Regions from separate parts of the Homo sapiens genome. Here region 1 is linked to region 2. The links are contacts of gene promoters, found by promoter capture Hi-C in blood cells and fetal thymus (Javierre and others, 2016). All regions are on one chromosome and are shown on one strand. The core of a region is centred on a gene start or on the middle of the fragment in contact, and the rest is flanking DNA. Distances in the headings are between cores, read along the strand shown. Region 1 holds the start of ODC1 (ornithine decarboxylase 1). Region 2 holds the start of RNF144A (ring finger protein 144A).

Region 1 (5,179 bases), core at 174-2,673, 3.5 Mb before region 2:
TCAGACCTGGTTTTGGGTACCAAGGAAGTTTTTCAAAACCTCACAGGGCTTTGTAGCTATAAAGATATGTAAGGATCCTTGGGTTATCTGAAGCCCAGAGAAGGGAGATAACTTGTCCAAGAGCACACAGCAAGTTGGGGGCAGCGCTGGGCCAGTGCTCTGAGCTCCTCCAACCCCGCCCCCACCCACCCAAGGCTAGATCTAGATCTACCCACTCCTCTCCTTAACTCTTCATCGGCTGTACTCCCACCCTAAGGAGTCGAAATCCCCACCCTAGGGAGAGACATATCCTGTCTGGATTGTCCAAAAGGGAATGAAAGGTAAAAATGAAAAAAAAAAAAAAAAGTGTCCCCAATTCAAGTGCAGTGCCTCCCTGGTGCGGGCATTCCAGCGTGGCCTGGAGTGAGTGGCAGTCCACCTCCAGAGGCGTCCCCTGGGCGCTCCTAGGGACTCGAATTTCCCACGCGGCTTTTTGCTTTATGTATTCACTGTTTAGACGTTTTCGGTCAAAGCATTTTGGGACTTCCGTAACTCTCAGAGCGCGCCAGGGAGCCGCCCTTAAAGATACCTAGTTACTGATGAGTTCCATCCGGTAAAGCAGAGGGTAGTGGGCGGCTTGGAGACTCAGGATCCGGGTCCCCTCACGCTCCTGGCTGAGTCCCTGGCTTCACAGGGGAAACTACCTCCGCAGGCCAGGACCCATCTAGTTACAGGATACCTCGATGTTACAAAGACGAGGCTTCCAGCGCGGGGGCGTGGAGGCGGCTGCCAGCCCTGCCCGCAGCGTGCTGGCGACCCCCGGGACGCCCCTTCCCTCCCGCGCCTCTGCTCCCTAGCTGGTGGGAGCAGAGCGGCACCGGGATCACTTCCAGGTCCCTTGCACCGGAGGAATGGGCGGCAGCAGGGTCCGGAGTCGGCCCGGCGGGGCCCACGTGGCCAGCACATCGGTCCTCCGCTCGCGATTTCCCTTTTCCGCTCTCGGGCACGAGGTACTGAACGCCAGGTGGAAGCACAGCTGTGCAGCTACAGGCTCTGCCGTTCAGCTGCCGCGGGCCGGGGCCGGGGCCTGCGGCGTCGTGCGCGTGCGCGGACCAGTTCCAGGCGGGCGAGACCGCCGCAGGGCGGGGCGGGGCGAGGCGGCCGCAGGGCGGGGAGGGCGGGGAGAGGCGGCCGCAGGGCGGGGAGGGCGGGGCGCGAAGCCGGGGGCGGGGGCCACGCGTGGGGCAGGCGGTGCTCGGCTCGGCTGACGTCGGCCCGCCGGCGCCCCACCAGCTCCGCGCGGGCCCGGGTTGGCCACCGCCGGGCCCCCGCCCCTCCCCCGGCGGTGTCCCGGCCGGAACCGATCGTGGCTGGTTTGAGCTGGTGCGTCTCCATGGCGACCCGCCGGTGCTATAAGTAGGGAGCGGCGTGCCGTGGGGCTTTGTCAGTCCCTCCTGTAGCCGCCGCCGCCGCCGCCCGCCGCCCCTCTGCCAGCAGCTCCGGCGCCACCTCGGGCCGGCGTCTCCGGCGGGCGGGAGCCAGGCGCTGACGGGCGCGGCGGGGGCGGCCGAGCGCTCCTGCGGCTGCGACTCAGGCTCCGGCGTCTGCGCTTCCCCATGGGGCTGGCCTGCGGCGCCTGGGCGCTCTGAGGTGAGGGACTCCCCGGCCGCGGAGGAAGGGAGGGAGCGAGGGCGGGAGCCGGGGCGGGCTGCGGGCCCCGGGCCCCGGGCACGTGTGCGGCGCGCCTCGCCGGCCTGCGGAGACACGTGGTCGCCGAGCGGGCCACGACCTTGAGGCGCCGCTTCCTCCCGGCCCGGGGTTCTCCCGCGGCTGGATAAGGGTGATCCGGGCGCCTCGTTCTGCCCCCGTCTTCACAGCTCGGGGCTGGAGGGGCCTAGGGGAGACCCACCCGGAGACCCTGCGGCCCCGCGCCGGCCTCTTTCCCAACCCTTCGGCGGCCGCGCGCTGGCCGGGGAGCCGTTGGGGAGGCCCTGGCGGCCGCGCAGCAGGTGCAGGGGCGCAGAGCCCGGGCTCGCCTTGGTACAGACGAGCGGGCCCCGGCCTTGGCGCCTTCAGTTTCCTTCCAGTTTTTATTTTCGCTGTGTCTACAGAGCAGATGACACCAATTTGGAAACCCGCGAGAGTGGGTAGAGCTAAGATAGTCTTGCTGTAGTAGCTGTGATATTAGATGCTCGGCCATGACTTAGAGGTGTTTATTTAAGGACTGTGAATGACTCGGTGATTTCGGAAAAGCTTGGCTTAGATGAACGGACATACACAGGGGAGACAGCCCTAAGGTTTGCAGAAAAGGCTGATTGTGCTGTTTGCGAAGTCGAAATAATTGGTGAAAGTGTAGAAGGCAGAACCTCTCAGGAATGTCTGGGGAGGACAAAGAATGTGTTGGCTGACTTTGTTTAAACATAAAATTGGGCAGACTTTAATTGATTTGTGAAATTTTTTTCAAAGTTTGTTTGAATTAGCCCCTATCTCTTCTAACATTATCCTCTTGTGCTAATTGATTGACCATTTTAAATAACTTAGCTGTTACAGAAAGACCGAAAGGTGTTCTTCAGTAAAATATATTCAAGTAAGTTACTTAAGTAACGCCTTAAAAGATACAGAAAAGCAAAAAAGTATTGGCGTATTAAAAAGAAATCAAAACTTTCCAAGTTTAGGCCTGAACATTGCCTTAAAAATATTTAATAAGGCCTCAAATGACCCAGTCCGAGACTGCATGAGCCTATTTATTATTAAATTGTAAATATTCTTCATATAAACAAAAATATATAACCATGTCTGTAACAAAAATGGTTTTGCTAGCGTTGTTACTCTCTTCCCTTCTCCGAGGGGTGATTTAGGCAACTTCGGAGGTTGACAATGCCAAGCAGTCACAATAGATAGAGCTTTAAAGCAAATTCTATGCATGGGTTTGGATTTATGACAGGCCCGTCACCCTGGGCCTGTCATAGTACCCCATGCCAGAGCAAACTGTGTCCCCGAACCATTGCCTGGCCTCTGTGCCCGTAGGCTGCTGGCACTGAAGTGGGTTGCACAGTGGAAAAGAAGAAAGCTCTACCTGGCAGAAATTTTTAAAGGTTAAAATAAATAATTTTAAGAAAGCTGGTTCACAAGGTGCCACATTTGATGAAAGCAAAATACAGTGGCTTTTATTGTTACTAGAGTGATGTTCTTGCTTGTTTTTCTTTTTTGGTGAAGTTAGCCCCAAATTATTCTCATAGCTAAGCAAATACGAGAGTGACTGTAAGGACAGTTGGCATTCCCGGAATTGCTAAACTTGGTAGGCAACGCTGGTTTAAGAATACTGAGTTCTAGCCGGGCGTGGTGGCTCACGCCTGTAATCCCAACACTTTGGGAGGCTGAGGCAGGCGGATCACCTGAGGTCGGGAGTTGGAGACCAGCCTGACTAACATGGAGAAACGCCATCTCCACTAAAAATATAAAATTAGCCAGGCCCCGGGTGTGGTGGCACATGCCGGTAATCCCAGCTACTCGGGAGACTGAGGCAGGAGAATCGCTTGAACCCAGGAGGCGGAGGTTGAGGTGAGCCGAGATCATGCCATTGCACTCCAGCCTGGGCAACAAGAGTAAAACTCTGTCTCAAAAAAAAAAAAAAAAAATACTGAATTCTGATCAGGTAACAGCAACTGTAATACAATGTGATAAGTTGACTTGAAGATTACAGTTTTTAAGAAGTATATACCCAGCTAATACATGAAAATTAACTCGTAAAATCTCAAATGCTCCAGACATTTCCATGATGCCTGTTGGTCAGTAAAAATCATTCTAAGACTTAGTGGAAGTAGGAAATGTTTGTATGGCTGTGTATAAAGGCTATAATGTAATCCCAGCACTTTGGAAGACCGAGGCGGGTGGATCACCTGGGGTCAGGAGTTTGAGACCCACCTGGACAACGTGGTGAAATCCTGTCTCTACTAAAAACACAAAAATTAGCCGGGCATGGTGGCAGGCGCCTGTAATCCCAGCTGCTGGGGAGGCTGAGGCAGGAGAATCGCTTGAACCCGGGAGGCAGAGGTTGCAGTGAGCCAAGATTGCACCGCTGCACTCCAGCCTGGGTGACAGCGTGAGACTCTGTCTCAAAAAAAATAAAAAAGTCTATAATGCTATTTTAAGTTTCTAAGGAACTGAAACTGCTCTGAAATAAATCAGACCATTATAAGACTTTTTTCCATATCAGTGAGCTAAGTGCAGATAAGCTTCTGAAACTTGCATGCTAGATTTTTTTGGTACAAATATTTGAAATGCTTAGTGTGCTGCCTTGGAAAAACCTGGTATTTTTTGTTGTGTCCTTATACTGCCAAGGTTTATGGAATCATGTACCTTATGCCTAGTAATAATTAGGATGACCAGGCCAGTGAGTGGTTCATATCCGGGGCATGATTAGCTCTGCGTGTGCTCAGCCAGTGCCCCATCTTCAACTCGATGTGTTCCTAAGGTAGACAGCAAATTCCCTATTTTATTTCTCAGATTGTCACTGCTGTTCCAAGGGCACACGCAGAGGGATTTGGAATTCCTGGAGAGTTGCCTTTGTGAGAAGCTGGAAATATTTCTTTCAATTCCATCTCTTAGTTTTCCATGTAAGTATTCAGTTTACATTTATGTTGCAGGTTAATCTTAAGAATTGTATTGCTAAGGCTTCTAAGTGAATTTCTCCACTCTATTTGCATTTTGTTGCATTTCAGAGGAACATCAAGAAATCATGAACAACTTTGGTAATGAAGAGTTTGACTGCCACTTCCTCGATGAAGGTTTTACTGCCAAGGACATTCTGGACCAGAAAATTAATGAAGTTTCTTCTTCTGTAAGTATATGAGGCCCATGCTGGCAGTGCAGCTGAGAGTGCCAGGCAAGTGGAAAACTTTGGCAAGGTCTAAGGAAGAGCAATGAGGCTTACATGTCTTGTTATGGAATGTAGAAATTAATTCACTGGTGGTAAATTAATAGTGATAATGGTGATACTCATATCAGTGGCTAGACTCAAAAGAGCAGGATTCATTGTGACTGATGGGAATGAAGGTCGCTGGCTATTGGTGTGGTGTGTGGTGAGGCTGCTAGTGAGTCACCTGTGACCACTCTTGTTTCAGGATGATAAGGATGCCTTCTATGTGGCAGACCTGGGAGACATTCTAAAGAAACATCTGAGGTGGTTAAAAGCTCTCCC
Region 2 (5,180 bases), core at 1-2,500:
CTCCCGAGTAGCTGGGACTACAGGCGCCCGCCACTGCGCCCGGCTAATTTTTTGTATTTTTAGTAGAGAGGGGGTTTCACCGTGGTCTCGATCTCCTGACCTCGTGATCCGCCCGCCTCAGCCTCCCAAAGTGCTGGGATTACAGGCGTGAGCCACCGCGCCCGGCCAGTTCAATGGATTTTAAAAATTATTATTCTCTAGAAAAAAGACCACGAACTTTGGAGTGGACATCCTGAGACCTGCCTACGAAGACCATTAGGGTAAAGAAGTCACCCCTTCACCCCAGGACCAGGAAGCCTCCAGGATGGCATAAGCGACCAAACAGCTGGGAGCCAAGCACAGTGCAGGGGGCTTGGGGTCGGCGGCCGGAGGCTGGGGTGGGTAAGACCCGCAGGGAACTCCGGGGCTCGGGCGGCGGCTCATTCCCCGGGAAAGGGCTCGCGGTGGGGACCAGGGGCAGTAGCAGCCGCGGACCCCGCGCGCAGGGGATGTGCGGGGCATCCTCTTGGCCAGTTCCGACCTTCCCCGCCGGTGGCGATGCCCCGGACGCGTCGTCCTTTCCCAGACCTCCTCTTGGGGCCGAGGCTCCAGCCCCAGGGTCTGCGGGCGGGGCCGCGAACCTTGAAAGCCCCCGCCGCCAGCTCGCCCGCGGGACCCTGGCCCGGGGCGCCCTGTCCCGCGCCGCAGCGCAGACCCGCGACCGCGCAGGGCAGGCAGGGGGACGCCAGGTCCCTAAGCGCCCACTGCCCTGGGGCGCGGGCGCCGCCTGCGAGAGGCAGGGCAGGGCAGGAGCAGAGCAGGGACGAGGTCAGGGACACGGGCAGGGCAGGGCGGGCGTCCTCTGAACGGAGCCCGCGAGTCCCCGCCCGGGACGCTGCCCCCCGCCCGCTGCCACCGGGCGCCGGGGCAGGACCCAGCGGGGCAGGCGCGGCCGCAAGCCCCGAGCCCCAAGGCCGGCCGCGCAGCGCCGCGTCCCGCCCTCCCCGCTCCGCGGCCGGCCCGGGCGATGCGGACACAAAGGGGACGCGCGTCACTCTACCTGGGCCTGCTCGTCCGCGGTGCGCGGCTCTGACGCCTCCGCCCGGTACTGGCTGCGGGGTGCCGGGTGCCCGCAGTTTGCCGCCCGCGCCTCCCCGCGCCCGCGCAGCCCGCACGGCCCGCACTGCAATGCCAGCCCTGCCGCCTCCCGCCTGCCGAGAGCCCGCGCGGGGAGAAGCGGCTGCGCGGGCGGGGCGCGAGCGCGCACAGAGGCCGGGCACGCGGGAGGCTCGGCCCCGGCCCCGCCCCCGCGCCGAGCCGCACAGCGCCCCCTGCCGCCCGCCTGCGCCGGCCCGAGGCCCGGAGCCGCCCCGCAGGCCCCAGGACAGGCTCCGGCACGAGGAGGGGCTGCGGAGACCGCCCGTGCACGCTAACATGAAAATGCTATTCCTGCTTTAGTGGCCTCCAGAAGACACTCCCCTGATTCCTACACCGAGGGAACACACAGCAGCAAGCTAGGAAAGAAGGGGTGACCCAGCCCAACGCTGTAAACCAGGGCGCGAACCGGCGTTGAGCTGTGCAGCTGCGCCCTGGGCTCCAGTCCTGCTCTGCCGCAGACCCCACCGGAGCCAGCACCTGCCTCCCCGACCCTCGCTGGGGCGGCTGTGAGATGAGCCCAGAGCCTTCCTGAGCCAACCCTCGCAAGGAAAGTCTGTCTGTTCACCCCACTATCCTTGTCTTGAAGGATGAAGAAAAGAGGGCCCCCCGGGAGGTCCCAAAAGGTGGAATGGACATCTGGGATCCAAGCACAGCAATTTCTTTATTTTTCTTAAGGTATCCAGCTTGTTGGAATCTAAGATCTGCGAAGGTATTAATAGAATTCCTGCATCTTCTGCCACTCCCCATAGAAGCTTGAAGTTACACAAATGTTAAATTATACGTCAGATGTGCATATATGAACAAAACCTACGAGTGTGCATGAAATAACACCTTCTTAAATATATAGATTCTTTTTTCTGCAATATTAAATGGAAACCCCACTAGAACATCGTTTTTCCTTAATAGCATACCCTCCACACTGTGTGGTCTAAATTCAAGCTCTACCACCTACTAGCCATTAAGCAAGTTATTAAGGTCTTCGTGCTTCCATTTTCTTACGTGGAAAATGAGGTGGCAATAGTATGTATGAGTTCTTCGGAGGGATTAAACAAGTCAAATAGGCCAAGTGCCATGGCTTACACCTGTAAGCCCAGCACTTTGGGAGGCCAAGGCAGGAGGACTGCTTGAGCCCAGGAGGTCAAGGCTGAAGTGAGCTGTGTTTGCATCACTGCACTCCAGCCTGGGCAGCAGAGTGAGACTTTGTCTCTCAATAAATAAAGAAATAGTCAAATTAAATATAACTGGCAAACTAAAACAACTCCATAGTCCTTAGCTACAATTTGTCTCATTTCTCCAAAGAATTAAATCAGATGATTCTTAACTAACTCAAAGCTCTGCATAATTTGTCTTCTGCTACACATACATCTTTATAGTAAAATAAAATAAAGCTGTCCCCTCTGTATTGAGAAGTTATTCTGGTAAATATTTGACCTCTTCAAATATATGAACGAGCACTTGCCTTCTAATGCCTCAGTTTCAGATTCTTTTTAGAAATGTCATTATTCAAGAAAAATGCACAATGGGAAGAATCTTAACAACAGCACTTTGTTACTTCAGCCTCTCACTAGAGGATGAAAATCGTTCTGCATAAAGGCCTGGGCTTTATGAAAAATATATTCACACCTCCCGTGTCCGAGCTGGGATACCAAAGAAGTTCCTGGTTGAGTACTACTTATGAATGAAGGATTCAGGGGATGCACAGGTGGGTGACTGCAAATGCACAGACGTTGTGCTGTGTTCCCCACAATAAAGGGGTCTGTATTAAGATGCAGGCATTCTCATGGAACACAGACGTATAACACTCAAGCTGGGGGACTGCAAAGGAGCATCTGGGGCTGCAGGAAGAGAGTTAAGGTGCAAAAATGCCCTGACCCAACTGAGACTTGTAATTGCTCATGTGGTAATACATGTGACTTCATTCCCCTGCTCTGTCTTTGTGAATGCAACCATTGTTGGGGAGATAGTGAGAGGGGACACTGGCATTGAAAGTTTTGTTTGCAGCAGGCCTCAAAAGGCACTCAGATGCAGATTTCCCTGCAAAGACTTCCCGGCCTATCATGGAGTTCCCCATCCCTAGATCTCTGATCTCTGAGCTGGTGTAATACTTAGTCTTTGTCTGTGTTGATCATGGCATCTGCCACACTTAATGTTTGTGGCATTCACTTTCTGATGCTTAGATCTTACGATTCTAGAGAACAGCATTTTTCTACATATTCCCTCTTAGGGCCTTGAACATAATAAGTGCTCAATAAATACTGAGTGAAATCCTCTACTCTGAGCTTTGCCTCTGAGCAGCTGTCCTAGTTCTCTCCAACAAGAAGTTTGTTGGGTCTCTCAAGTTCACTTCCACCTGTCACTGTCAGTTTTCAGTCCAGCCCCTTACTCAGGTCTGGCTGGCCCATCTCCCCCAGAGGGCTGTCCCATAGAGCCCATTGTAAAGGACACTCATTGTTGCCAAGAGTTTGTGCCAATGCAGTATGACTCACCCTTCACTCATTGAACAAGCTCTTCCTGATTACCTAGATGGGCAAAATTTCCCTGCTCATGCGAAGCAGGCTGGCGACTCAGTGCTGCAGCAAATGGCCCAGAAGCTGGGAAAGCAGATAGCCGTTCTGACACTTCTCTTCTAGACAGAAAATCAAGGGAAGCTCAAGACCCACACTTGAATTTTTTTTAAAAAATTAGACAAGGGGCTGGGTGTGGTGGCTCATGCCTGTAATCCCAGCACTTTGGGAGGCCGAGGCAGGCAGATCACCTGAGGTTGGGAGTTCAAGACCAGCCTGACCAACATGGAGAAACCCCTGTCTCTGTTAAAAATACAAAATTAGCCAGGCGTGGTGGCACATGCCTATAATCCCAGCTACTCGGGAGGCTAAGGCAGGAGAATCGCTTGAACCCCAGAGGCAGAGGTTGCGGTGAGCCGAGATCGCACCACTGCACTGCAGCCTGGCAACAAGAGCGAAACTCAGTCTCAAAAAAAAAAAAAAAGAAAGAAAAAGAAAAAGAAAAGAAAAAAAATTAGACAAGGAAGTTTATGTGAATTTGTAATCACACATTCCATAAATATAGAAAATTCACTTTTTTTATTTTAAAAATTAACAAATTCCATTTCTTGTTTCTCTAGAGTAGCAGGAAATCAAATGTCAGTTCTCATTCTGACTTTCTCTCCTTAAGGACACAGAGGAATCTGGGGGATATTATGGTTCTGGGAATGTGGAATGTAACGTCTCATCTTCAGCCCATCTGTGCTACTGATCATCTCATTCCAGAAGCCATGCCTTCTCTCAGGAGCAGACAGCACAAGACTTTCCTGCCAGAGGCACAGTCCCCAGGTGAGCCACACAGCCTTCACAGGGTAATGCCAAAGAACAGAGGAGAGTTCCTGCTACTCTCCGGGTCTTCTTGGCAAAGCTTCTGATACAGTCTGGCTGTCTCTCCACCTGAATCTCATCTTGAATTGTAGCTCCCATAATTCTCGTATGTCATGGGAGGGATCAGGTGAGAGGTAACTGAATCATGGGGGTGGGTCTTTCCTGTGCCGTTCTCGTGACAGTGAATAAGTTTTATGAGATCTGATGGTTTTATAAAGGGGAGTTCCCCTGCAAATGTTCTTGCCTGCTGTGACTTTGCTCCTCCTTGCCTTCCGCCGTGATTGTGAGGCCTCCCCAGTTATGTGGAACTGTGAGTCCATTAAACCTCTTTTTCTTTATAAATTACCTAGTCTCAGGCATGTCTCTATTGGCAGTGTGGGAACAGACAGACTAATACAGCTTCCCTTGTCTGTACTCTTACCCTTCTCCCTTCAAAAGCATCCTCTCTTTCTTTTCCAACCTTTCCAACCTCTCGAATAATCTCTGCAGTGGGAGTAGCATCCACATAAGACAGGATGCAGAGATGTCTTCAAGCAGCTTCAAACAAAACTTCAAGAAAGAAAGTGCAAGTGAAAAAGGAAATTCATCCTTCCAGTCACTTAACACAGCACTGTCACGGACACCTTGTGCCTCCTTAAAATTCGTATACTGAAGTTCTAAGCCCCAGTACCC

The links. The method cuts DNA at HindIII sites, captures the fragments that hold promoters and counts their contacts. A CHiCAGO score of 5 or more calls a contact.
Region 1: the fragment with the promoter of ODC1 here is called in contact with the fragment with the promoter of RNF144A in region 2 in 1 of 17 cell types (activated CD4 T cells); the score reaches 5.2 in activated CD4 T cells.

Annotation. Positions count from the first base shown.
Region 1 is chr2:10,444,571-10,449,749 of GRCh38, reverse strand. It overlaps ODC1 (ornithine decarboxylase 1), which reads left to right and starts at 1,423. Exons shown (of 12, transcript NM_002539.3): 1 at 1,423-1,629; 2 at 4,486-4,595; 3 at 4,701-4,819; 4 at 5,103-5,179. The coding sequence starts at 4,718. SNORA80B (small nucleolar RNA, H/ACA box 80B) reads left to right here and starts at 2,901; the gene lies at 2,901-3,036. It overlaps ODC1-DT (ODC1 divergent transcript), which reads right to left and starts at 22. Exons shown (of 5, transcript NR_110597.1): 1 at 1-22. RefSeq lists silencers at 553-2,032, 3,257-3,486 and an enhancer at 2,153-2,242. The HindIII fragment of the contact is 2,497 bases long and covers 1-2,234 here.
Region 2 is chr2:6,913,482-6,918,661 of GRCh38, reverse strand. RNF144A (ring finger protein 144A) reads right to left here and starts at 1,250. Exons shown (of 9, transcript NM_014746.6): 1 at 1,040-1,250. It overlaps GRASLND (glycosaminoglycan regulatory associated long non-coding RNA), which reads left to right. Exons shown (of 5, transcript NR_033997.1): 1 at 1-260; 2 at 1,438-1,812; 3 at 2,695-2,839; 4 at 4,312-4,469; 5 at 4,998-5,180. RefSeq lists a silencer at 921-1,410. The HindIII fragment of the contact is 2,406 bases long and covers 1-1,891 here.